3 separate regions of the Homo sapiens genome follow, and all the other regions are linked to region 1. The links are contacts of gene promoters, found by promoter capture Hi-C in blood cells and fetal thymus (Javierre and others, 2016). All regions are on one chromosome and are shown on one strand. Each heading gives the region's core, a stretch centred on a gene start or on the middle of the fragment in contact. The rest is flanking DNA. Distances are from core to core; before and after follow the strand shown. Region 1 holds the start of LRRC8B (leucine rich repeat containing 8 VRAC subunit B). Region 2 overlaps KYAT3 (kynurenine aminotransferase 3). Region 3 overlaps KYAT3 (kynurenine aminotransferase 3).

Region 1 (4,892 bases), core at 1,245-3,744:
AAATTAGAGAATTCAACTTTAGAGACACCAAATGAAAATCCGGGATTGGGTTAAACAGGCTATGAATAGTAAAAAGTCCAGAAAACATAAAATACTCAGGTACTATTAGAAGAATTTGAAAACTAAAATACAAAAACAAAAACCCTTGTTTATAAGAAAAACATTGGCTAAAACAAGGATGTTCTAAATTGTAAAATATTTTTCCCCTTAAACTTCAGAAAACAACAAAAAATAACAAATTTCAGGCCACTACAGGAAAATACATGGATTAGTCTAAAAAACTTGGAAGGCTTAGTATCCTTTAAGTTTTATTAAGCCCCTTTTCATTTTACTTACTGTTGGTGTTTTCACTCTGAGGATTCTGAAAATTAAAATAGCAATGGGAAATGGTGATAGTGGTAGAGAAGAGGTTTAAAAAAGCAAATCTCAACTAGTCAAATGAAATCATTCAAAATGTGAAAAGATTCATAATAGGCTGAACATGTTGGAACACCTTACCAATTGAGGAAAAAGAGAACACATTTCAAAGAATGGTAAACTTAATTCCGACATGCAGATTTAAAAATGTTGTTGGGGATACTAAGTATAAGGAAAGTGCCATGACCCAAGGGTGCACTCAATGACAACATCACCCCCATTCAAGAGACCTCTTTTTAGCTTACAGAAATATCAGACATGTTAGGGCTTATATTCTAAAATTACACAGGCCCAATTACCTTGGGGGTTGGCTGTCACTTTATATTCTCTGAGTAGAGCTGCTGACAAGGAAAGCCAGGAGAAAAAGAAAGTCACCTCGGCACCCACAATTCAGAGAGCATTTGGGGTCACACCTGTAATCCCAGCACTTTGGGAGGCCGAGGTGGGTGGGTCACTTGAGGTCAGGAGTTTCAGACCAGCCTGGCCAACATGGTGAAACCCCGCCACCACTAAAAATATAAAAATTAGCTGGGCGTGGTGGCGGGCCCCTGTAGTCCCCGCTACTCGGGAGGCTGAGGCAGGAGAATCACTTGAACCCAGGAGGTGGAGGTTGCAGTGAGCCGAGATCGCACTACTGCACTCCAGCCTGGGCGACAGAGTGAGACTCCGTCTCAAAACAAAACAAAGAAACAAAACAAAGAGCATTTGGGGTTCTCAGGAGGTGTAGCCTGTACACATAGAGGGTACTGGAATTGTTTAAAAAATTACACTGCAGTTTGACTTCTTTTCCATCCTCACTCCTACACCTAGGTTTAGGGGACAGAACCATCTGATAAAGATAAATCTGTTTTAAGATTTCTGGGGTGTTCTGCAAAGACTACTATATCATTTGCAAATAGGTTGTCTTTTAATAAAAATCATGCTACGTAATGTCTTCTTAATATACGCTGAACAAATTGCCTGTTTTAATTTGGCTATATATCTACAATTTAAAATGTTCATACTGTTATCTTTTACCAGTGGAGTGTTTTTTTGTTTGTTTGTTTGAAGTCTTTAGGCGAAGTGAATTTATTCAAGGAAGTTCACATGTCGGTTTTGTTCTTTTAGAGGGGTGTCTTTTTGACCACAAAGAAAAAAAAAGTTTTCCACAAATGTCATCTAACTAAAGGCAATCTATGGACTTTAGGAAGTCAGTTGAGCACACAGATTAATGAGCCAATACTGAGCCTCCTCCCTTCTGACCTCTCAGCACCTGCTCAACTAAGCTCAGGGGAAACTCTTGAGTCTTCTTCTTAAATTGGTAACGCTTGCCCTTTCTTTCTCAAACAAATCAACGCCCAACACCACCACCAAATTATAGGCAACCAACGCGTATCCAACAGCATAAAATAGTTCCCAAGAGCATAAAATAGTTCCCAACAGCGCCAGCGCAGGGGGCAAAACAGAGCGACCAAATGGGGGCACCCTCAGGGGAGTTGCGCTCATCTGGAGCGAGACGCCAGCCTGGGAAAGCGGAACCCCTTTCCCGCCCCGCCCCGAGGACTCACGCTCAGGTGCAACGCCGAGACTCCCGGGGGAAAGAGAGGTGACCGTCTCGGCGCGACCGCCCACACCTCTTGCTCCAAATGACCCCAGCACACAGGAGAGGTCCTCTCAGCGTGGGACTCCGTCTCTCCCGAAGGCAGGGAGCACAACGAAGCGGCCACTCGTCTCTGCAGCCGCGCTACCGGCCCGCAGCCTGGCTCGCAGGTGAGGCGTGAACAGGTAACCGCACCTGTTCGGCCAGCCCCACCTGCTGCGTCCCCGTATCCGGTCCTCCTCCTCCACCACCTCGGTCGGCGCGGCTCGCCCTCCTGGAACCGGGGTGTCACGCTCCGACCTACCTGCGCGACTCCAGCCCCGGACGCCCGCGCTCCCCGCGGCGTGCTCCTGGGCCGCTCCGGGCGGGCAGGCTGCGGCCCCGCGCCCGCACTTTCCCGGCTGCCGGAGGCTGCGGGCTCAGCGGGAAGCCCCGGCGCTGTCCGGCTCGCCGCCTCCGACCGGCTCCATTGTGACGCGACGCGTTCCGCTGGCCAATGGGCGCTCGGCGGCGCGAACCGCTGACTAAGTTCGCGGGTGGAGGAGGAGGGGACGGGGCGGAGGCAGGGCGCGGAGGCGGCTACCACGGTGGTGGCGGTAGCAGTGGCGGAGGAGGAGGAGGAGGAGGAAGAGGAGGAAGAGGCTGCAGTCGCTTCGGTAGCTGCTCCTGCTGTGAATTTTTCAGCTGCCTGGGCCTGAGTGTTTGCCCAGCTCTGGGGCTGCGGGAGCCAGTGACTCACCTATCACTGCTGGAAACAAAGCGCAGCTGCCATCTCCCCGAGCGCGCCATGTGGCCATCGCTGCCCCCTCGCCCAGCCTGGGGTCCGCAGGAGGTAGCGCACAGCCATACGCCCCGCGGAGCAGCTGGAAAGAGCGGGGACTGCTTTCCAGAAGCGGGAGGGAAATGGGCTTCGGCGTGTCCCCCAGGCGCGCCACACCGGTGACTTCGGCACTACACCGCGTGTGTCGGGCCCCAGCCTTCTCACGTGTGCGTCCCTGAGTAACTTGGCATTTATATAACGCGTGTTGGGCCCTGAGGGAAAGGTCGGGTGCAGCACGCGGGAACCTCCTCTTCGAAAAGGAAGTCCCCTTACTTTTCTTTACCCTGCTTAGAAAGATTGCAGGGCCCAGCCTCTGTGAGGGAGGGTTTACAGTTGTACCAACTAAGCGGCTTAAGTTCGATTCTGGCCTTCCAATACCATTGGCTTCTCTCAAATGTCGTTATCCTCAGGATAGGGAGGGGACCACATGGCCGAGGGGCGGTCCCTATACTCATAACCTGCCTTTCACTGCGATTCAACTGCAGAGACACCTCAACTACTGCCCGCTTGCTTCTCTCCCAAGTGGCACTGCATTTGAAGGCCAACAATATTCCTTACGAAACAGAATTAATCCAAACCCACAAATTCTAGGGACATAAATATTTTTATCATCCTCATCCATTTCCCCACTCTCACCCTTACCCCAGTTTTAACTCAGTCTCTGCCCTGGCTATTATCTTGAGCACACTGATTCAATTAGGCAAGATTTATGTCTTTTAGTTGCTATGGTGGTCACATCTCCATTTAAAAAAAGAAAGAAAAAACAAGTTTGTACCGGCATCTCCCAAAGGAATAAAATGAAGACGAACAGACTCAGCATTTGGGGCATCTGAGCAGTTTGTGTAAATGGGAGTATAGCAAATGCCCTATCGAGTTAATATGAGACAAGAGTTGTGTCTCAGACTGTTCAGATGAGGACTACAATTTGAGTCACCCTGAAAGGGAAAAAGAAGGCTGTCTTTGTGTCACTGATCTGTTCTTTTCTTGTTCACTCAGTCCATTCTGGAACTGCAGATATCTTTTTTCTGAGTCTTGAAGGAAAAGCTGAAAGAACATTTCTTCACTTGGTCATTCGATAAATTTTTATTGAGTTTATATGTGTGAGACACTGGGTATGCACAGATCTACAAGTCTAATTTAAATTTAGGTTTGATCCTTACAGGAGTATCTGAAATTCTCTCAGGGACTTTCTGATTAATTATTTTTGGTAGAAGAAAATTCTAAAAGACTCTGTCACTACTTTCACAGCCAGATTTACCCAAGTCTAAAATAGTGATTAAAAATTCCATCATGGATTTTAAGCACCAAAAAAATGACAGGCAGGTCTCAATCGTTTTAGAGGTTTATTTTGCCAAGGTTAAGGACATTCCCCAGGAGAAAGCACAAATACAGGAACATCTGTGATCTGTGCCTTTTGCAAAGAGAGTTTTTGAGGACTTCAGTATTTAAAGGGGAAAGAGCCAGCAGGAGGGGAAGGAGAAAAGAAAGAAAAAAAAGGGAAATGGGAAGGTAGGCAATGAGGGAAGAAGTTACATTCTTGTGAGGCTTTGATTAGTGCCCAGTGAATTCACATTTTGCGTGTGAAGAGTGGGTAGAGGAATACTGATTATGTGTTCCTCTCATGCTCAGTAAATCTACATTTTACATAAGATAAATGTGAAAATAGGGGGAAAGTCAATTATGAATTTGTCTTGGGGTGGGCAGAGGGATGATTTCCAAGTCTTGTCCTTATACCATACATATGAAGATGAGCTGTTATTGTCAGAGTGAGATTCAACAGAACTGTGTTTTAGGGCTCATTTATAGGAGGGATATGCATTCTGAAAGATTTAGGGACCCACAAGGCATTTCACTGTAAGCAATTTGTGAGGGAGGCTATCTGGGGAGATATGTGGCCTTCTATTGTTGCAGCTACCTGGTAACAACAGAAGGCAGGTTTTTAAAATTTTTTTATTTTTTATTTTATTATACTTTAAGTTTTAGGGTACATGTGCACAACGTGCAGGTTAGTTATTTATGTATACATGTGCCATGTTGGTGTGCTGCACCCAGTAACTCGTCATTTAACATTAGATA
Region 2 (4,892 bases), core at 1,153-3,652, 560 kb after region 1:
TGCAATCTATGGCCTATGGACCCAATATGTCAAATTTTGTAAATAAAGTTTCATTAGAACACAACCATACCCACTTATTTATTAATATGTATATTCTAGTTTTTGTAAATACATAGGTATATACATGTCTATGTGTTTTTATATTGGTATAAGCACTGAGAGTGGTGTTGCACTATCACCAGGCTGTGGACATTCATCACCTCAGGGGGATGGGAATGAAATAATATTGAGGAGCGATTGTAATTTTTATACATCTTTGCCTAGTTTTACTTATTGCATGAAGCATAAATTATTTTTGTATTTAAATTTTTAATTTTAAAAGCACAAACACTTATCATTCTAAGAAATGTATATAGTGTTTATAGTTGCTTTTCAGATCTCCTCTTGCTAGAATTTGTTAGACCTGCTATTAAAGTAAAATTCAAAGGAACTCAGTTTATTGCTCCAGAGCCCAAAGTGCTTTCAAACAAAGGTACATGACCTGCACTTGCACTCTTACTCTCAAGGGATAGAAAATCAGGATGGTACTTCAAAAGCAAAATGAGGAGGTAGATGCTGGACAGAAAACAACAGGAAATATTGACCTAAATACCAAATAAAACAAGGAGGGGGAAAGGAAAAGGAAGAAAAAAAAGGAAGGAAGGGGAGAGAGCCTAGAAGAGAACTTAGGGAGAGCTAATCCAGGAGTCTTCAGACCCCCTGCTTGCCTCAGGCTGTACCTTCATAATCCCTTCACTTCTCCTATGAAAGTAGTTACCTTGGATAACCACTGCTCTCTTGACTGTCAGTGTGAGTAGTGTCTCACTTCCTTCTAACATTTGCTATCACATCAACACTAGTGTTCGTGTCGTTGGTGAATTTGTTTTTGTTCTCTTTCCCTAGTCCATTGGTTGGCATAACCATCTCTCCAGCAATCAGGAAGAGCCAAGGAGTGGGTATACAGTTAAAGTGGGTTTTTTTCACTTATTTTAACTGGGAAACAAATCCAACTCTTTTCAATATGATTTAATTACTGTCAAAAAATACAAATGGTTGATTTTTATTCAAAGCAAATACTTTGAAATTATATAATCCCAAACCCTTTATTTAGTAAGAAGTTTTAATCATTAGCAAGCCTTCATGACAAATAGTGTGGGAATACTCTAAATGTAGGAAATTTTAAAAAATTTATTGCCATTAAAAAATATAAATTTTCTTGGGGTAATTATAAACATCAAATCCAAATTTTAAAAATTCTTACATTTTAGAGCCATATTACCTCAAACAGTAGGTCCCATATTTAAATTCAAGGTTTTGTTCTTATTTTTAATCCAACAGGGCCATCCATCACTTGTGAAAGCTCTGTCCTATCTGTATGAAAAGCTTTATCAAAAGCAAATTGATTCAAATAAAGAAATCCTTGTGACAGTAGGAGCATATGGATCTCTTTTTAACACCATTCAAGCATTAATTGATGAGGGAGATGAAGTAAGTATATTAACATTATCGTAATACCCATATTAATCAATTATCATTTGTCCCACCTTTGAATCTTTCGCTTATATTCTACTCTTTTCTCTTTTTATTTTTAATTATGTTTTAAGTATAATGCATGTACAGTAAAGTTCACAAATCTTAAATGTACAGCTGGATAAATTACTGTGTAAATTTCTGTGCAACTACAACCAGACAAAGATATGATACATTTCCAGTACCCAGAAAACTTCTTTGTTCCTCTTCAGAGTCTATATTCTCCCAGAGGTAAGTACTCTTCTGTCTTCTATTACCATAGGCTTGTTTTCACTGCTCTTTTACTTAATATGAATATAATTATACAGTGTATACTCTTGGGTCTAGATCCATTCATTTATTTTTGTGTCTGTGAGATTCATCCATTTTGTTGCATATAATTTATTCTTATTTTTATAGCCTATTTAAATAAGGGCAGATGGAAGGGACTAACACTGCCAGGGAAAAAGAATCTTTTGTTTTCATTGCTAAAATAACCTTTACTCTTAACTTGGTCTACAAGTTTTTGATCAATGTCTTTGTGTGCCCAGTAATTGTATAAGCCATCCCATGTGAGGATGTTTTTGTGATTGTTTTTGTTTTTTTGAGATGGAGTCCCACTTTGTTGCCCAGGCTGGAGTGCAGTGGCACGATCTTGGTCACTGCAACCTCCACCTCACGGGTTCAAGTGATTCTCGTGCCTCAGCCTACTGAGTAGCTGAGATTACAGGCGCCCGCCACGAAGCCCAGCTAATTTTTGTATTTTTAGTAGAGATGGGATTTTGCCATGTTGGCCAGTCTGGTCTCGAACTCCTGACCTCAGGTGATCCGCCTGCCTCAGCCTCCCAAAGTGCTGGGATTACAGGCGTGAGCCACCACGCCCAGCTGAGAATGTATTAATATAATAGGAAGGTAAAATGATTTCTGCGATTTAGTACTGTGAGGTATGACCAACTTTTGCAACTACCTCAGTCATCTCTACCCGTATTTCCCATTAGCATTCCAATAGCCTTACTTTAATACTTTTTGCCTCTTTCATTTATTCAGAAAATACTGAGGATCCAATATATGCTAAGCACTGTGAGATAGAAGATGTTTTAAAGATAGATTCTATGCAGAAGGTGTTCCCTGTCTAGTAGAGAACACAGACTTGCAAATGGATTACGAGGAACACTATGGTAGTGACAAAAGGAAGAGGCAATCACCTCTGCTAAGTCTGGAAAGCTCCAGAGAGACATTGCTTAAGCTGGGACTGCAGAACGAATATTTATCCTGATCTATATTGTTAACTTTCTTTAAACTCTCATAACCCTTTATCATACCACTTTTATGAAAGATGCCACTATCTGCTTTGTGTTATGTTATTCTTTTACAACTTTGATTCCCTTCACTATGCCAGACAAGATGTTTAAGGAAACATGTTAATGAAGTTCACAGTTTCATATACATAAACTCCTTTAATCCTATACATAGTTTTGTCTCATACTTCGATGTTGTTAATCCTTTGTTGCTTCTTTCTCTGCACTCTGTTGGGAGTATTATAAGGCTTAGCCCTTAGCTTTCTTTCCTCTATTCTTTCTTCCTTCATCAACTTATCTAGTATTTTGAAACCACATACATGTCACTTGCTATCATACTGACCTATTTATTGTTTCTTTATAGCATTTATTACTATCTGAAATTATCTAATGTCCTTATTTGTCTCTCCGTTCATTATAAGCCTCTCTCAGTAGGATATAAGTTCTAGGAGAACTTTATAGCTTTACTGCCAGCACCTAAAATAGTGAGGACGCAATAAATATTCTCAAAAAAAAAAAAAGAGAGAGAGGAATTGTTCACATCATAAAAGTGAAAAAATCAAGGCGAAGAGTAACAGGTATATTTCTCCCACTCTACTGCCCTGCCTCTCCAATTTATTTTCCTTTATTGTGCTCTCACCTTGTATTAAGCTTTATATTTCCCACTAGAGTTACAAAGATAGATTGTCTTAGTCCCTGAGAACTTCACAGATGAGGCTGAGTGTGGTGGCTCAGGCCTGTAATCCCAGCACTTTGGGAGGCTGAGGCAGATCACCTGAGGTTAGGAGTTTGAGACCAGCCTGGGCAACACGGCGAAACCCCATCTCTACTAAAAATACAAAAATTAACCGTGCTTTTGAGAAGAGAGAAACATCTTTACTCTCAAGATAATGCTTTTAAATTAGCACTTTATACCAGGGAACATTACAGTGTTCTCTTCCCACATAGCCTGCTGTCTGTCACTGCTTATACATCACTTATATTCTAGATTTTATTTTCTGATTTGAAATATGAAGAAATGCTTAATCGTTTTGCCTGGAATATCCCTTTGAGAATGTGATAGTCCCATTCTCCAGGTAAATCTATCTATGCATATATGAAATTTTATATGTAATTTCAAATACTCCCACTGCATGCTTATTTATAGATCTCCCTAAGATACCAAGGAGTCCAATTAAGACTACCTGGACAAGTTTGTCTCCGAGGTCTCTTCCCCTCAGATGTTAGCTCCACAAGGGCAAAGCCTGCCTTTTTCACTGCTGTATCCCAACACATAGTACAGTGCCTAGCCCATAGTAGGTACACAGTATTATTAACATGAATAAATGATTGACAGGTTGTGATCTTATTTGCTTTTATTGCAGGTCATACTAATAGTGCCTTTCTATGACTGCTATGAGCCCATGGTGAGAATGGCTGGAGCAACACCTGTTTTTATTCCCCTGAGATCTGTAAGTTTGCCAGTATGGTTCATATGGCAAAGTTTCAAGACTTAAGAAGTCTTGAAAATACCAATTACTTTGTCATGATAAAGTTTCTACTTTGATTGCATTTGGAGATTTCCTGTATATCTCTATTTGTCTAGTTGTCTTTTTAAAATATTTTTAACATAAGTAATACACTAAGGTGAGTCACAAAATCTTCAGCTAGCCTTACAATATCAGACATGTTAACCATAGTTATAGCTAGTTCCTGTGAAGTAATATTAGCAGCAGTTAATGTTGACAGGGCTTATTTTTCCATTTAACAGGTGTGAGCATAAGACTTAGGTTTTCTTAGGCTCTTAAGCAGAACTACAGCCCAGTTATTTCTGTTTATCTTCTTTGTTAGTCTTTTTCTAGTTTTTTTTCTGTTCCTACTGCAGGAAAGCATTTGTTGGTAATTTATTCAGTTTCCTTTGCCATGACTTTCTTTGATGTTTTTTTCCTTATTAGGTTATTCGTTTGTAAGACAGTAAACATGACTTAATTGAATTAAATTATATCTTCATTCTTCATGCTTAGAAACCTGTTTATGGAAAAAGATGGTCTAGTTCTGACTGGACATTAGATCCTCAAGAACTGGAAAGTAAATTTAATTCCAAAACCAAAGCTATTATACTAAATA
Region 3 (4,892 bases), core at 1,632-4,131, 540 kb after region 1:
TTACTTGTATCTAAGAGAATCTTTCCTACTTTCTGAGTGGGCACTAGTTTTGGAGTATATATATTGTATGCCATGAACTATATTTTTCTGCTTATGGCTTTGCCTCATTTAATTGCCATAGCACTTACATGGGGCAGGTATTCATTTTCCTGCTTAGCAAATAAGGAAACTGAATTTCAGAGATGTCAGGTAACCTGCCTACTTCACACACTAGGAGTTTTGATGTTTAATTTTGAACTAAGATCTATCTGGCTTGAAAGCTCTTTGCATTAAACAACCTTGAACAATATACTTGGAACGTAGGTGTGTTTTTGGCACAGAACATGGCATGTGTGTGAGGGATTGAACACAGACTTGCCCAGATTCAAACTTACCAATCTTCTGTTTCATGTGCCCAGAAGAAACAGCCTGTTTCTCAGCCTCAAACCCAAACTTCTAGTTGTCTTGATTGGTTCAGCCTGACTGTCCAACTCTGATTTATAGCTGTGATTGGGGGAGCTGAGATTACACAGTGTAGGCAGGCAGAAGGGCCCCAGGCCTATTGATATGGGTGAGGACAATACTCACGCACTCCCTTCACTTACTCACTCTTCCAAGGTCTTGGCTTGAACCCAATTTTTTTTGAGAGAATAAACCAGGCTTTTTGTTCTCCACTTGGCCTGACTCCATTTCTGGCATTCCAGCCATGTATTTAGCTGTTATCAGCTTTCAGATTTAGAGAAAGCCTTGTTTCCAATAAGCTTGTTTCTCTGAAGTAATTGTTAAAATATAATTTTCAGAAAAAGGTTAAATCATGACTCATACAAATATAAAAATGAACATGTGCTAAAGATTTTTATTTCACTCATGTGATATGAAGTAACCAGACAGAAGTTATAACCAGTACATATGGAAAGTCAAAAAGCACAAATTCATATGTAGTAAAGGAATTGGATTGCAAATGAAGGCAAAACTGTTTTTTCTACAGGGTGGAGGGAAGATAATCAAAATGCTAGAACCAGAATTTGCATGCCTGTCACTTAGCTTCAATTTACAAAAGCCCAGAATAACTCAAAGGCAAATTCTAGCCCTGCAAATATCAGCCCTAAAGCTGTGCTGTGGCCAGTGCATAGTTTTCTATTGAAGTACAATTTTTTCCCCAAATACATTATCTCTCAGAGGGAGTCCAAATTGCTTCCCTTTCACTCAGCAGATCTGTTCAGTCAACAGATGTTAAATAGCTACAGCGTATCAGGCACAAATAATTCTTTATAAAATAAAGTAACAAACTATATGTTGTTTCAAAGTTCCAGTTAAGGCCAGCCGTGGTAGCTCACCCTTATAATCCCAACACTGGGAGGCCGAGGCAGGCGGATCACTTGGGCTAGGAGTTCCATACCAGCATGGCCAACATGGTGAAACCCTGCTCTACTAAAATACAAAAATTAGCCAGGTGTGGTGGCGCATGCCGGTAATCCAAGCTACTCAGGTGGCTGAGGCACAAGAATGGCTTGAGCCTGGGAGGCAGAGGTTGCAGTGAGCCAAGATTGCGCCGCTGCACTCCAGCCTGGGCAACACTGTGAGACTCCTGTCTACAAAAAAAAAAAAAAAAAAAAAAAAAAGCAACAAAAAAAGGGCTCCTGTTAATTATACACACTTTTGAGCTTAATATAATTGCATTTTTTATGTATCTTTAAGCATCTTTCCCTGCTTTACATTTCCACTTCTGAGTTTTACTTTCATTTCTTCCACCATTACAGGAACATTCTGTTGTTTTCCTCTGCCATCTAGTGGCAAAAGAAAGTAATTTTCCTGGTTTTTTGAATGGATAGCCATACCTTAAAAAGCATCCAGATTGCGCAGTAGTGCTAGCGGCTTCGCGGTTCAGTCCTCCTAACTGACAGCCGCCACTGGTGCTGAGCTGCTAGGAAGCCCCTGTCGGCGAGCTTGTTGGAGCTTGAACCCACTGTCACCCCTCCGACTCACCGGCAAAAAAAAAAATGGTTGAAGCAGATCGCCCAGGAAAGCTCTTCATTGGTGGGCTTAATACGGAAACAAATGAGAAAGCTCTTGAAACAGTATTTGGCAAATATGGACGAATAGTGGAAGTACTCTTGATAAAAGACCGTGAAACCAACAAATCAAGAGGATTTGCTTTTGTCACCTTTGAAAGCCCAGCAGACGCTAAGGATGCAGCCAGAGACATGAATGGAAAGTCATTAGATGGAAAAGCCATCAAGGTGGAACAAGCCACCAAACCATCATTTGAAAGAGGTAGACATGGACCGCCCCCACCTCCAAGAAGTAGAGGTCCTCCAAGAGGTTTTGGAGCTGGAAGAGGAGGAAGTGGAGGAACCAGGGGACCTCCTTCACGAGGAGGACACATGGATGATGGTGGATATTCCATGAATTTTAACATGAGTTCTTCCAGGGGACCACTCCCAGTAAAAAGAGGACCACCACCAAGAAGTGGGGGTCCTTCTCCTAAGAGATCTGCACCTTCAGGACTAGTTCGCAGCAGCAGTGGAATGGGAGGAAGAGCTCCTCTATCACGTGGAAGAGATAGTTATGGAGGTCCACCTCGAAGGGAACCGCTCCCCTCTCGTAGAGATGTTTATTTGTCCCCAAGAGATGATGGGTATTCTACTAAAGACAGCTATTCAAGCAGAGATTACCCAAGTTCTCGTGATACAAGAGATTATGCACCACCACCACGAGATTATACTTACCGTGATTATGGTCATTCCAGTTCACGTGATGACTATCCATCAAGAGGCTATGGCGATAGAGATGGATATGGTCGTGATCGTGACTATTCAGATCATCCAAGTGGAGGTTCCTACAGAGATTCATATGAGAGTTATGGTAACTCACGTAGTGCTCCACTTACACGAGGGCCCCCGCCATCTTATGGTGGAAGCAGTCGCTATGATGATTATAGCAGCTCACGTGATGGATATGGTGGAAGTCGAGACAGTTACTCAAGCAGCCGAAGTGATCTCTACTCAAGTTGTGACAGGGTTGGCAGACAAGAAAGAGGGCTTCCCCCTTCTGTAGAAAGGGGGTACCCTTCTTCACGTGATTCCTACAGCAGTTCAAGCCGCGGAGCACCAAGAGGTGCTGGCCCTGGAGGAAGCCGATCTGATAGAGGGGGAGGCAGAAGCAGATACTAGAAACAAACAAAACTTTGGACCAAAATCCCAGTTCAAAGAAACAAAAAAAAGAGTGGAAACTATTCTATCATAACTACCCAAGGACTACTAAAAGGAAAAATTGTGTTACCTTTTTTAAATTCCCTGTTAAGTCCCTTCCGTAATTTTTATGTTCTTGTGAGGAAAAAAGTAAAACATGTTTAATTTTATTTGACTTTATGACATTGCTTTTCAACAAGCAAATGTTAAATGTGTTAAGCCTTGTAGTACTAGTGTTGTAACTTTCCAAGTAAAGGTGTCCCTAAAGACCACTTCCTATCTGGTTTTTCCCAGTAAATGAGGCAAGCAATTCTAAGATCTTCCACAAAACATCTAGCCAACTAAAATGGAGAGATGAATCATTCTGCCTATACAAACAAGCTAGCTATTAGAGGGTGGTTGGAGTATGCTACTCATAAGATTTCAGGGTGTTTTCTAACTGAAATCTCACTGTTCTCAGTATGCAAAACCTGAAATCAGATGCCTATGTAAGGAAAGTGCTATTCACCCAGTAAACCCAAAAAAAGCAAATGGATAATGCTGGCCATTTTGCCTTTCTGACATTTCCTTGGGAATCTGCAAGAACCTCCCCTTTCCCCTCCCACAATAAGACCATTTAAGTGTGTGCTAAACAACTACGGAATACTAAATAAAAAGTTTGGCCAAAACCAACCATGAAGCTGCAAAGGTGCTTGCTCTTACTCTTTCAAATTTTTGCAACTCTAATGTCTCACTTTTAAAGGAACAGCTTGATTGCAAAGGAGAAAATAGATAAGCAATGAATTTATCTCCAACTTCCTAAAGGCTTATGACTTCTAAAAAGTGAATCTATCAGCATTCCACATCAGATTTAAAGCATCAAATGCCTGTGAAACAGCAAAGATGGTTGAAGATTGTGCTCATTATGTTTGTGGAGTGCTGATTGATTCACAGTAGATAACGCTGGCAGTAAGAGAAATCAAATGCTAAGAGTTGTTGAAGCAGAAGGCGGCTGATTGTTGGTAAGTCAGTGCAGTTGCATAAGCAGTGCTGTCAGAATTGGTTTGGTGCAGGCAATAGATTTTGCCTTCAAGGGTTCCTGTGGATCTCAGGAAGGCATCAGTGTTGATTAACACTCATAACTAGGGAGTGAGTGGTAGTTACTTAAGTAATTGACCAAATGGAAAAGGGGAAGTAATTAAGGAAATTGGTAAGTGGAGGTAGTCAGGAGGTTCTCGTGGTCCTTTACACAGATTTTACAGCTTTGGGTTTCATTTTGTTTAGCTAAAGTCATGGGGACAACTCTTCAATTTAGAACTTAAGATGAATTATAAAAATGATGGATATAAGTGGTAGCTCTATCTGGTGAAGTGTCTTGTCAGTAAGTGAAACATTTTTTTGTGGTGGCTTATCCACAAACAGTTTAGTTGTAGAATAAAACTTATGAGTGACATCTGGAAAGTAACAACCATGCTAAGATGGCAAACACACTGGAAACAATTGGGCCACTTGGCTTTCTTTTGCTGTATTGTTTTATAAGCCTGCTTTACCTCCCCGTCTTGGAAACAAGTTTTAGTTTATTGCTTTGGAGACTAGAGCCAATAGTGTAATGTTCTCAAAGGAAACAGACTTGAGTTGTTGGATTAGAGGAACTAACTCAACTTCTAATTTTTTTTGTTGTAATTATGGCACTGTCATGTTTTAACATTTGCAACTAGGGATAGTAAGTACAACATTTTTAAC

What was found. Contacts are between HindIII fragments. The CHiCAGO score rates a contact against its expected background, and 5 or more counts as called.
Region 2: a fragment that was not itself captured here is called in contact with the fragment with the promoter of LRRC8B in region 1 in 3 of 17 cell types (neutrophils, total CD4 T cells and non-activated CD4 T cells); the score reaches 6.1 in neutrophils.
Region 3: a contact is called between a fragment that was not itself captured here and the fragment with the promoter of LRRC8B in region 1, in 1 of 17 cell types (activated CD4 T cells). The highest score is 5.3, in activated CD4 T cells.

What each region holds. Positions count from the first base shown.
Region 1 is chr1:89,522,431-89,527,322 of GRCh38, reverse strand. LRRC8B (leucine rich repeat containing 8 VRAC subunit B) reads right to left here and starts at 2,494. Exons shown (of 6, transcript NM_001369817.2): 1 at 2,301-2,494. RefSeq lists enhancers at 466-967, 968-1,469 and a silencer at 2,171-2,630. The HindIII fragment of the contact is 21,216 bases long and covers 1-4,892 here.
Region 2 is chr1:88,961,404-88,966,295 of GRCh38, reverse strand. KYAT3 (kynurenine aminotransferase 3) reads left to right here. Exons shown (of 14, transcript NM_001008661.3): 5 at 1,318-1,467; 6 at 4,151-4,237; 7 at 4,790-4,892. Among named protein-coding and RNA genes, the nearest start is that of KYAT3, 29 kb to the left of the region's middle. The HindIII fragment of the contact is 2,075 bases long and covers 1,365-3,439 here.
Region 3 is chr1:88,980,914-88,985,805 of GRCh38, reverse strand. The region is part of intron 2 of KYAT3 (kynurenine aminotransferase 3); the gene reads left to right. RBMXL1 (RBMX like 1) reads left to right here. Exons shown (of 3, transcript NM_001162536.3): 3 at 1,740-4,892. The coding sequence starts at 1,980. The coding sequence ends at 3,152. Among named protein-coding and RNA genes, the nearest start is that of KYAT3, 9.3 kb to the left of the region's middle. The HindIII fragment of the contact is 4,277 bases long and covers 743-4,892 here.